2 separate regions of the Homo sapiens genome follow, and region 2 is linked to region 1. The links are contacts of gene promoters, found by promoter capture Hi-C in human tissues and cell types (Jung and others, 2019). All regions are on one chromosome and are shown on one strand. The core of a region is centred on a gene start or on the middle of the fragment in contact, and the rest is flanking DNA. Distances in the headings are between cores, read along the strand shown. Region 1 holds the start of TP53INP2 (tumor protein p53 inducible nuclear protein 2). Region 2 overlaps RBM39 (RNA binding motif protein 39).

Region 1 (5,353 bases), core at 1,646-4,145:
CTTCAAGCTATAACTACTGAGCCTGTGATGAAAGTCTACTCTATGCCAGACCCCCACAAGCTGGGTGCGGGCAGTATAGGGACAAAGACTCTGCCCTTGGGATGCCAACCATCCACTTGAGAAGACACATACACATACAATGAGTCATCATCACTTACTGTTTATGGACAAATAAACGTCCATCAAGGTAGCCATCAACTCGTGGGTAGGGACAAGGAAGGCTACCTAGAGGAAGAAAGGGTGAGTAGAATCTCTCCCTCTCTCTCTCTTTTTTAAGAGACAGGGTCTGGCTCTGTCATCCAAGCTGGAATGCAGTGGCTTGATCATAGCTCATTGTAACCTAAACCCAAGTGATCTTCTTATTTCAGCCTCCCTAAGCAGCTGGGACTACAGGTGCATGGCATCTGGCTAATTTTCTCATTTTTTGCAGATAAGTGGTCTCGCTATATTGGCCAGGCTGGTCTCAAACTCCTGGCCCCAAGCAATCCTCCTGCCTTGGCCTCCCAAAGTGCTGGGATTATGGCTGTGAGCCACCACACCTGGCCAAGTAGAATCTTGAAGACAGGAAAGATCTGGATTTCAGAAAGTTCTGAAGAAGGCATTCCAGGCAGGGGAAACAGCTTGAGCAAAAGGGTGGAGGTGGGAGAGTGCTGTAGAGTCAACAAGGAGTTTGACTTTAGCACAAGATGCGTGTAGGAGAAGGGGAGGTGAAGCTGGAGAGAACTGGGGCCGGAGCATGGGGGGCATGAGTTCTGTGTTAGGAGTGTGGGGCTTTAGGAGCCACATCAGGTTTTAGAACAAACAAGTGGCTTGACAGGAGAGACGTGTTAGGGATTATTTAATTAAAGTCAGCAAGTAGGTCTGAAAGGGTATGAGGTTAGCAGGAAGTGGCTGTGATGGGCAGAGGCTCAGAGTTGCATGGAATGAGGACACTTTGGGTATAACACTCCAAGGGCCACAATGCCACTCCCCTCTCCACCCCTCAGCCTTGGGTTATTTTTTTCTGGCTTCTTCCCCTGTCGCTAGGGTTAAGGAGTCCCTTGGGGGTTTCAGATGAGGCTGGGATAGAGTTTTATCACTAGAGTGCCGGGCACGGTGGCTCACGCCTGTAATCCCAGCACTTTGGGAGGCCGAGGCAGGCAGATCACAAGGTCAGGAGACCGAGACCATCCTGGCTAACACTAAACATACAAAAATACAAAAAATACAAAAAATTAGCCGGGCGTGGTAGCGGGCGCCTGTAGTCCCAGCTACTCGGGAGGCTGAGGCAGGAGAATGGCGTGAACCCGGAAGGCGGAGCTTGCAGTGAGCCGAGATCGTGCCACTGCACTGCAGCCTGGGCAACAAGAGCGAGACTCCGTCTCAAAAAAAAAAAAAAAGTTTTATCACTAGATCATTAACCTCTGGCCTAGGTCACCTCCGGCCTCCTTTTGGGCTAGGTGGGCAGTTCTCGGACCCTCCCCCACCAGCCCTGCTCTGCTGACCTAGAACCTCTGGCCCTGGAGATTCTGATATGTGTATTTGTGGTCTCTTCTCGGGCATCTCCCAGGCCACTGGGAGAGCTGGGGCCTAGAGCGTGGGGTGGGTGGAATCCTGAGGGCAGAGAGTGTGGAAGAATCTTACAATGGCAGCTCTAGAGGGAAGCCTGGATATGTTTGTTTGACAAACTGAGACCCAGAGAGGTAACATGACTTGAGGTCACACAGCAAGTCTAGGGCACAGTCAGGACTGAAAGCCAGGACTCTGGGGAGGCTAAAGCGCCCTGAGGTTTAGACCATCTGGTTCATGTAGAGAATGGAGAGGGTCAGGGCTGGGAGCTATGGGTTCAAATCCTGGCTCTGCCATTGACTGTACTTTTGTGACCTAAGAAAGTCACTTGAGCTCTCTGAGTCTGTTTCCTCAACTGTTAAACGGGACAATATCTACCTTTTGGGTTGTTGTGAAGATAAAAAAACACACCCATAGCACAGGTCGTGGCACACAGTAAGTGTGCCAATACATGTCAGCTAGTGGTATGGTGGTGCAATAGTAGGTGCCTAATAAATGTTGAATGCATTGTTGAACATGAGTTCACACGCTAACAGTGAGATTGTGAGACTCAGCTTTCCCACGTGTAAATCAGGACTCATAATCAGTCCCTGTCCTGCCACTTCTTTACAGCCCCGGTAGCAACATAGATTAAATAAGGTATGTAAACGTTCAAGCGCGGAGCCGTCTCAGGTCAATGTTTACTCAGCCCAGGGCAATTCCTCTCCAAGTCCTACTCTGCGAAATTTCACGTCAGCTTCACTAACTTCTCTACATTCCCAGATGCTCCCCGGGAACCGGGGGTTGGGGATGTCCCTCTTTTCTCAAGCCCGCCGAGCTGAGGAAAAACGGGGTGGGAAAGCAGAGTGTGTAAGGCTGAGGAGGTGAGCCAGAGGGGGGAGGGAGAGCAGGAATAAGGGCAGTGGGGAGAATGCAGGTGCACGGACGTGGTGTGGGTCGAGAACAGGGTCCGCATCGGGGGACTTGGATATAGGATGCAGTGAAAGGATTTGGGGAGCAGTGGGAGAGGTGAGGGCGCTGCGATCCGGGAAGAATCAGGAAAATAAGGAGCCGGTAGGAGGGAGTGGAGATCCTCCTCGCGGAGAGCTCGCCGCGGCGCAGGGCTCCCAGCTCCCCGCAGCTGCCTCCCCGAACACTCACCCTCCCGGTTCCGAGAACGTTTCCCGGCCCGAGCGCCCGGCCCGCAAACCGGGAGGGGAGGGGAGGGGAGGGGCAGGGGGGGATCCGCAGCCCGGGATTGGCCGCCGCCCCGCCAGCCGGTGACGCGAGGCGGGCGGGCCCCTTTGTGACGTCACAATCAGCTGTTTGAACGTTCCAATTTGTGCCGTGAGCCCCGCCGCAGCGGCCGCACAGACTCAAAGCCCCGCGGGCGAGCTCAGCAGCCCGGAGCGACCGCGGCCCCGCCGCCTCCCCCGCGAGTCCCGGCGATGCGGCCCGGCCTGTGAGCGGCCGGCGACCCTGGGACGCCCCGCCGCACAACTACCTCAACGCCGTGCCGCCCCCCTCCCGCCCCCAGGTGAGTCCCGACCCGGGTGGGCCTGGGGGCTCCCCTGCCACGGACACGCCCTGCGCCCCCCGCGCCCGGGCCTTTGTCTGTCTCCGCCGGCGGCCGCCGGGGCCGCGTTCCCGGCTCCCGATTGGTTGCCGCACGCCCGGTAGACCATGACGTCGTTCTATTTGCATATGACATTGAGACGTCACCAAGGCCGGTACCGCCCCCACAGGCTCGGGTCGCTTGTCCTCCCGTGACCCGGTAGCCGCTGTGTCGGGGCTGGGCCCTGGGTGAGACGCTGCAATCCAAAGGGGGCTGCAGGGGGATCGGCGATTTCCTAGGCTTATCCAGGGGCTGGGGTCAGGCCTCTGATCCCCTACTTTCTCTTTGCAACCTGAGAAGGAGTCAGACGGCGCTGCTGGGCCTAGGTTGAGGGGGTCGTCAGGAGTTCAGGGCTGCATGGGACTCCAGGTGGTTGGGACAGCACCAGATGGTGGTGGGATCCCCTCCCTCCGGCTCCAGACTCCGCCCCCAGGGACTAACAGAATAACATCCTCCTAATCCCTGATTTGTGTGCAGCGCCTTAGCTGATGTCACTCCTAGACCCAAAATGAAGGGTCTTAGACCCCAGTGCATGGAAGGGGCAACAGGCCCAGAGAGGAGGATTAGCTCTCTCGAGGTCACATAACCAATTAGAGTCATGCTCACTGAGTGACAGATGGATTATTAGCCAGGGGCAAAGACATAATAGGGGCTCAGTACAAGTGGTAAGATACACATCCTCCTTCCACTGGGGACCCGATCTTGGGCTCAGCCTTATCACGGTTTGATAGGCTCCTAGGTGTCCTTACTCCTGGACCCTTTTCCAGGGAATCTCTGGAGATTGGTTCACCTTTTGTGGTCCTGACCCCTTCTGTCCTCACTGTACCTTGAAGTCCTAGAGTCCAATAAAATCGCTGCCTCCCAGCTGTTTGGATCACAGAGAGGTGAGTCATTGGCTGCCTCGGGGTGTCTCCAGGGCTGATGTTGGGGTGGAGGGTGGGGTGAGGGTTCCCTCTATTGGCCCTTTACCTTCCCAACTTCCTAGGTCGTCAGCTAGGAAGGGCCTGACCTGGCCTAGTGCAGACAATTGCAGGTGTTTTGCTGCTCCCTCGTCACCTCTGCCCACAGAGAGTATAGGAGAAGGGATAGGATAAGGAGAGTTTCTGACTTAACAAGTGGATGGGCCTAGAGGCTGAACCAGGAACTCCATTCCTGCTGGGAGTTTGCTCAAGGATGGGCTGGGGGTAGGGGTGGCTTAGGGCACAAATGCTATTCTGGGCAGAGCTGCTGTAGTTATTAAAGGGAATGGTTCTCCCTGGAGCAGAACTGGGAATGTGAGAACCAGGAAGCTGGCAGGGCTGGGAAAGGAAATCTGGGAGGCTCCCCAAGTGGTCAGGAGAGGGGGCAGGCACTGGCTGGCTGGTGACTGCTTTCACTCCTGGCTGTCACTGACTTGCTGTGTGACCTCAGGCAGGGAGCTTTTCCCCTGAGCCTCCCTCCCCTAAACCTATCTGAAATTTGGGGAGGCACAGTGCAGGCTCTGGTACACAGTGGGTCTTCAGTAAATGCATGCTAAATCTTGGTGCCAGTAACCCCAGACCCTTTTGTAGCTAGGCGAGGGGTGGTGTGGCTAGGTCAAGGTCTTTTTCACCTCCCTGTACCCCTGCATCATTGTATTCTTGGGGATTGTTTGCTGAGTCTTTCCTGACTGTGTACACTCTGGACTGGATGCACAGTAACGTGGGACTAGGTCTGCCCTGCCACTATCTAGCCATGTATTTTTGGATAGATTTATGTCTTCTTTCTGATCATCAGATTTTAAAATGGGCTGGGTGAATATGATGGTCCCTGAAACAGCTCTTAACTTCTCTTTCATATTCCATGAATTAGTAGGTTCTTGGAAGGAGGATGTGCCTCATCAAGGCCTCGATATTCCCTTCCTTCAAGAGGGGCCAAACTTTCTGGGCTTTTGGTAATGGAGTCACTAGCTCCCTGTGGCTACATATGGGTTGGGATACATGAATTGTGCTGGGTGGACACTAGTTGGGGGTGGCCCCACCTTCTTAATCCCTGTAGATCTCCCACCCCCATCCCACCAGAGAAGCCAGCATCTTAAGCCTACTGTGAGTCTGCAGATGTGGAAATATTCTCAGGGTATGGAAGTGAGGTGATTCTGCAGCAAGTGTGAAAACATTTCTAGGGAATGGGGGAGGTAGCAATAAGCATGGCAATACTGCAGGTGGATTAGCAGAAAGAGGAGAAATGCCTTCA
Region 2 (5,353 bases), core at 1,531-4,030, 1.0 Mb after region 1:
TTTTAAAATCTCTAACTAAAAACCAAAAAAGCCAAACATATCTTTCTGCTCACTTCCGTAGTCTTCACAGTATACCACCCATTCATAATTAAATCTTATAATCTATACCTCTGTGTCATCACCCAAATTTTAGAGGTGCCTTCAGATATTTCAATATAAATTGAAAGACATTTCAAAATCAGTTTATTCCACGAAAATGTCTATTTGTAGTGGCTTAATGATTAAACATTTTGACAATTCTGTATCATTATCTGGATATGTAATTGTTTATTCCTTATCAAAGCAAAGTTACATATCACAAGAGCAACTGAGGTCTGCCTCAGAGAACCTGTAAGCAGGTCATCTTTAGAGTGCATTGAAAATAGAAAATGAAGACACCCACCTTCTGGAATCTTGAAACCCACACTCCAATCACAAGGAGATGTAGAGCTTTCCAAGGAGGCAGAAAGTTTGTCTAAAATTTCAAGATAATCCACCTGACTGTCAGAAATGTATATGCTAGGTAGCACATGACAGAAAATTAGGCTACACTCATTATTTATATAGAACTCATCAAAGCCATGCCCAGATGGGCAATAGGTAACACTCCAATTTTGTTGCCTAAGAAACCTAACACTATCTCTGTGACACTATTCCAACTATAGAACTCTGAGATTTCTAAAACCAAAAGTCCTAAATATATTCAATTAGGGAACAAGGTAAAAAGTAACTCCATCCCCCTCAAAAACAAAGTTTTTGTTCTGCTCTAGATGGGCTATAGCAAGAGAGGCAACCAACCTATTTACCTCTCATAGGACCCAAAACTTATTCTGCCAAAAGAAAACACTTGAAAATTGGAGAGCTAATTTTAACTTAAGGTCTTCTAGGACTTTTTGTAAACAAGTCCTCACCCACATCTGAAGGCAACCCCAGGCAGGTAAAAAGACAGCAACATACTAAGACATTCAGAAAATACAATCTTTTGCATAAAAGCCCAGAGAAAACTACAAGGGTGCAAGAAACCAGTATATTTCCAGCTTCAAAGAGCATTTATTACATTAACTAAAGAAGGGTTATCGAAATCCACACTAATAGTCAAATCCTGTTACAACTTAAAAGGGACTTTCCAAAGTCTTTAATGGCAGTGAAATTTTGTACTGAACATCACTGAAGTAAATGGTCCACTGGGCTGGGCCTTTGGACTTTTTGGTTATATGGCCTCTGCAGTAAAGGTGTTTTGCTATAACTGGATTTGACCTCTTCCATGTAAGAAGATCTAAATTTTTAATGCAAAGTATTCTGGAAAATAAGAAAAAAAATAGAAAAGTCATTTATTCCAAAATTTATAGATAATCCACACCACAGTAGCCAATATATTTCAACTGTGTCATTTTAATGTTATCTTTTATTGAGTAATTCTCTAAAGAGCTTAACGGAATGGACGCTGATTTAGACTTTGCAAAACTGGTTACTTTAACAAATAATATTCCCATGAGGGCAAGCTCAAGCACTTAGGATGCATACCTTGACATATGCAAAAACTCAGGTTTACAGCTCTTCAGAAAATAGGTTGACAACCAGTCTGTGTCACAATAACTTTGTTCCTTTTACTATTCTAGGATACTATGAAGTGTATGTTAAGAATCAGAATTATACAATTAAAAAAATTTATACTCAGTCAACTGTTTCTCAGAACATGCCATTTTTCTACTACCTAACAAACTATAGCTCAATGTGGCTTTTAAGACAATGAAGTTTTAGAATGAAAAATGCAACACGGCACTTTCCTTTGGTTAAGAAATTTAATTTAGTACTAAAGGTTTAAAGCAGAGTGTTCTGTATGTTTTATATCTATTCCTAAATACAAAAATTTTCTTCCAGGTAACTTTAAAATTAATTTGAAACATAAAGTTCCTTCAGAAAATCAAGAGTCCTGATTGAACAAGGGAATCATTTATTTATCACCTATAATTGACGAGAAGTCTGACTGGAAAGTATTTTAAGATTACCAAAGTGTTTTGAAAGGATCTTCCCTTAGACAATCTCATGGTTAAAGAAAATTGTCCATTCTCCTATTTAGTCCTGTGGTTCTCTACATTAGACAAAGGCCACCGAATATCACACATGGAGAACTTGATGCTCAGCTTCCTTGTAAAAGCTTGTAGCCTTAATCAGCTTATACACAGGATAAAAACAAGTAGACACCGGAGATGACCTTAGTGGCAAAAAGCGACATGAGACAATGGTACAGTAACGAAGGTCTGTACCCAAAAGTGTACGTTCTTATCCTTCTGGCACTTGAAGCGAAATCTTTAGCCACTCGGCCTGACACCTAAATTGGATAATTTATGTCAATTTATATGGATACACCTTCCTGGGTTTTCTTTTGATTAGAGAATTGCAAAACAAAAACATTAGGAAACCATTACTGTGGCAGAAAGTCTAAAACCAGATGACATAAACCATACCTCTGGTTGGTTGCATCAGATCCCACATCAAGACTAAACCCAACCTGATCCCCACAATTTCTTGTGATTGGTGAGGAACTATAAATGACTCCCATCCAAGCTTATACCAGAAAAAAGGAGCACATTTTCTACAAATTATATCATTTTTAATCCATTACCACATTATTTTAGGGGAACTACAAAAAAAAAAAATAGTGGCTTAACAAGCCCTGAATAACATTATATATTTTCTCATCTGTTTTATGAAATTTTATCAACCTACCTAACACAGTTGTAGTGAGAAAGACTGACATACTTACTATGAAGCATTTAGGGATCTTAGGAGGAAAAGAGCCAAAAAGAAATCAAATAAATGGCTATTTTTCTCTCGTTTTTCATTAACATAAGGTCGTAAGTATGACAGATTTTTATGTTTGTTTGAGACGGAGTCTCGCTCTGTCTCCAGGCTGGAGTACAATGGCATAATCTCAGCTCATTACAACCTCTGCCTCCCAGGTTCAAGCGATTCTCCTGCCTCAGCCTCCCGAGAGTAGCTGGGACTACAGGCGTGCACCACCACGCCCAGCTAATTTTTGTATTTTTAGTAGAGACGGGGTTTCACCATGTTGGCCAGGATGGTCTCGATCTCCTGACCTTGTGATCCACCCGCCTGAGCCTCCCAAAGTGCTGGGATTACAGGTGTGAGCCACCACGCCAAGCCCAGACTTTTTTTTTAAGACGGAGTCTCAGTTGGGTCCATGTCTCACGCCTGTAATCCCAGCACTTTGGGAAGCCAAGGCGGGCGGATCATGAGGTCAAGAGATGGAGACCATCCTGGCCAACATCGTGAAACCCTGTCTCTACTAAAAACACAAAAATTGGCTGGGCATGATGGCTCACGCCTGTAATCCCAGCACTTTGGGAGGCCAAGGCAGGTGGATCACGAGGTCAGGAGTTGAAGACCAGCCTGGCCAGGATGGTGAATCCCCATCTCTACCAAAAGTACAAAAATTAGCCAGGTGCGGTGGCAGGCACCTGTAATCCCAGCTGCTCGGGAGGCTGAGGCGGAAGAATCGCTTAAGCCCGGGTGGCAGAGGTTGCAGTGAGCCAAGACTGCGCCACTGCACTCCAGCCTGGGCAACAGACTGAAACTCCATCTCAAAAAAAAAAAAAAAAAAAAATTAGCCAGGCGTGGTGGCAGGAACCTGTAATCCCAGCTACTCGGGAGGCTGAGGCAGGAGAACTGCCTGAACCCAGGAGGCAGAGGTTGCTGTGAGCTGAGATCGTGTCATGGCGCTCCAGCCTGGGTGACAAAAACGAAACTCTGTCTCAAAGAAAAAATAAAGACAGAGGCTGGGCACGGTGGCTCACACCTGTAATCCCAGCACTTTTGGAGGCCAAGGCAGGCGGATCACAAGGTCAATTCTGGCTAACACAATGAAACCCTGTCTCTACTAAAATTACAAAAAATTAGCCAGGCATGGTGGCAGGCGCCTGTAGTCCCTGCTACCTGGGAGGCTGAGGCAGGAGAATAGCATGAACCCAGGAGGCGGAGCTTGCAGTGAGCAGAGATCACACCACTGCACTCCAGCCTGGGCAACAGAGCAAGACTCCGTGTCAAAAAAAAAAAAAAAAAAAAAAAGGCCAGGCGCGGTGGCTCACACCTGTAATCCCAACACTTTGGGAGGCCACAGCAGGAGGATCATGAGAGGTCAGGAGATGGAGACCATTCTGGCTAACACGGTGAAACTCCCTCTCTACTAAAAATAAAAAAAAAATTAGCCAGGCGTGATGGCGCGCGCCTGTAGTCCCAGCTAATCGGAGGCTGAGGCAGGGGAATCACTTGAATCTGGGAGGCAGTGGTTGCAGTGAGCCGTGATAGAACCACTGCACCCCAGCCTGGGCGACACTGCCAGACTCCATGTCAAAGAAAAAAAAAAAAATCAAAGAATCACTTGAACCCAGGAGGCGGAGGTTGCAGTGAGCCCAGACTGCGCCACTGCGCTCCAGCCTGGGCTACAGAGCAAGACTCCGACTCACAAGAAAAGAAAAAAAAAAAGTGGATCTCATCATATCTGTTACCTAAGACTTTTCGTACACTGTTTTCTGTACTAGTCTATAGCAGAGTTCTATTGAGTCACTCATCTTACCCAAATAAAGTGTACAGATATATTCATAATTTCCAAAATCCCCACCCTGTTAAGTCTAGAGTTTAAAAGGCCTAAGATAATGAAAGCCACCTTTAGAAGTACTTAAGTACCTGTTCCATCACTTCCAAAAGGGCCTCTGAGCAGCAAGTTGCAGAAATAATTCACAGCTTTGACTCCTTCGGCACTTTAGGGCAAACAATACTTTCCATGGCCTAGTTATCACCTAATTTAACTCTTTCTACCTTTTAAGATCAATGGATATATAACAGTTTTATCAGTAAGATAACCAAATATCAAACCAAAGTTAACAAATTTAAAACAAGACAACCTCTAATACAGAACTTGTCACCAGATTGTCATGATGGACTTGGAGGGGAAGGTATCTGAAACTATATTCTGAAATCTAAGCAAAAAAATCCACAGTTCCTCCAAGAGTTTGTCTCAAAAGGCAAAGAACCAATTTTCTAAAAGCAGCAAAGAAAAGCTTCAGAAGAGAATTTTGTATACTTTAGCCACAGGAACACAACTTAAGGTCTAAAACCACAAAAAAGCTCACCACCCTCCCCCAAGCCCCTTCTTAAAACTCACTTTTTGCTACGTTCTTCATGGCCGTTGGCACTGCTCAACTTGTTCTCATCCTAAGCAGGGTTGATAGAAGAACATCATGAGGACGAAGTGGTAACATTTCAAGTTGTCAAAGGGTAAAGGGAACAGGAATAAGAAAATACAAAACAATTTTAAAACTAATTATTTACTTATAGTTTAACATGGAAGGCT

What was found. Contacts are between HindIII fragments. The study calls those that stand out against the background at their distance.
Region 2: a fragment that was not itself captured here is called in contact with the fragment with the promoter of TP53INP2 in region 1 in 1 of the 25 tissues and cell types used here (dorsolateral prefrontal cortex).

The regions. Positions count from the first base shown.
Region 1 is chr20:34,701,449-34,706,801 of GRCh38, forward strand. TP53INP2 (tumor protein p53 inducible nuclear protein 2) reads left to right here and starts at 2,896. Exons shown (of 5, transcript NM_021202.3): 1 at 2,896-3,064; 2 at 3,910-4,026. It overlaps LOC105372599 (a long non-coding RNA gene), which reads right to left and starts at 2,734. Exons shown (of 2, transcript XR_936690.3): 1 at 2,689-2,734; 2 at 2,211-2,365. RefSeq lists a silencer at 2,692-3,171. The HindIII fragment of the contact is 10,895 bases long and covers 1-5,353 here.
Region 2 is chr20:35,733,804-35,739,156 of GRCh38, forward strand. It overlaps RBM39 (RNA binding motif protein 39), which reads right to left. Exons shown (of 17, transcript NM_184234.3): 3 at 5,165-5,214. Among named protein-coding and RNA genes, the nearest start is that of RBM39, 5.8 kb to the right of the region's middle. The HindIII fragment of the contact is 5,614 bases long and covers 1-5,353 here.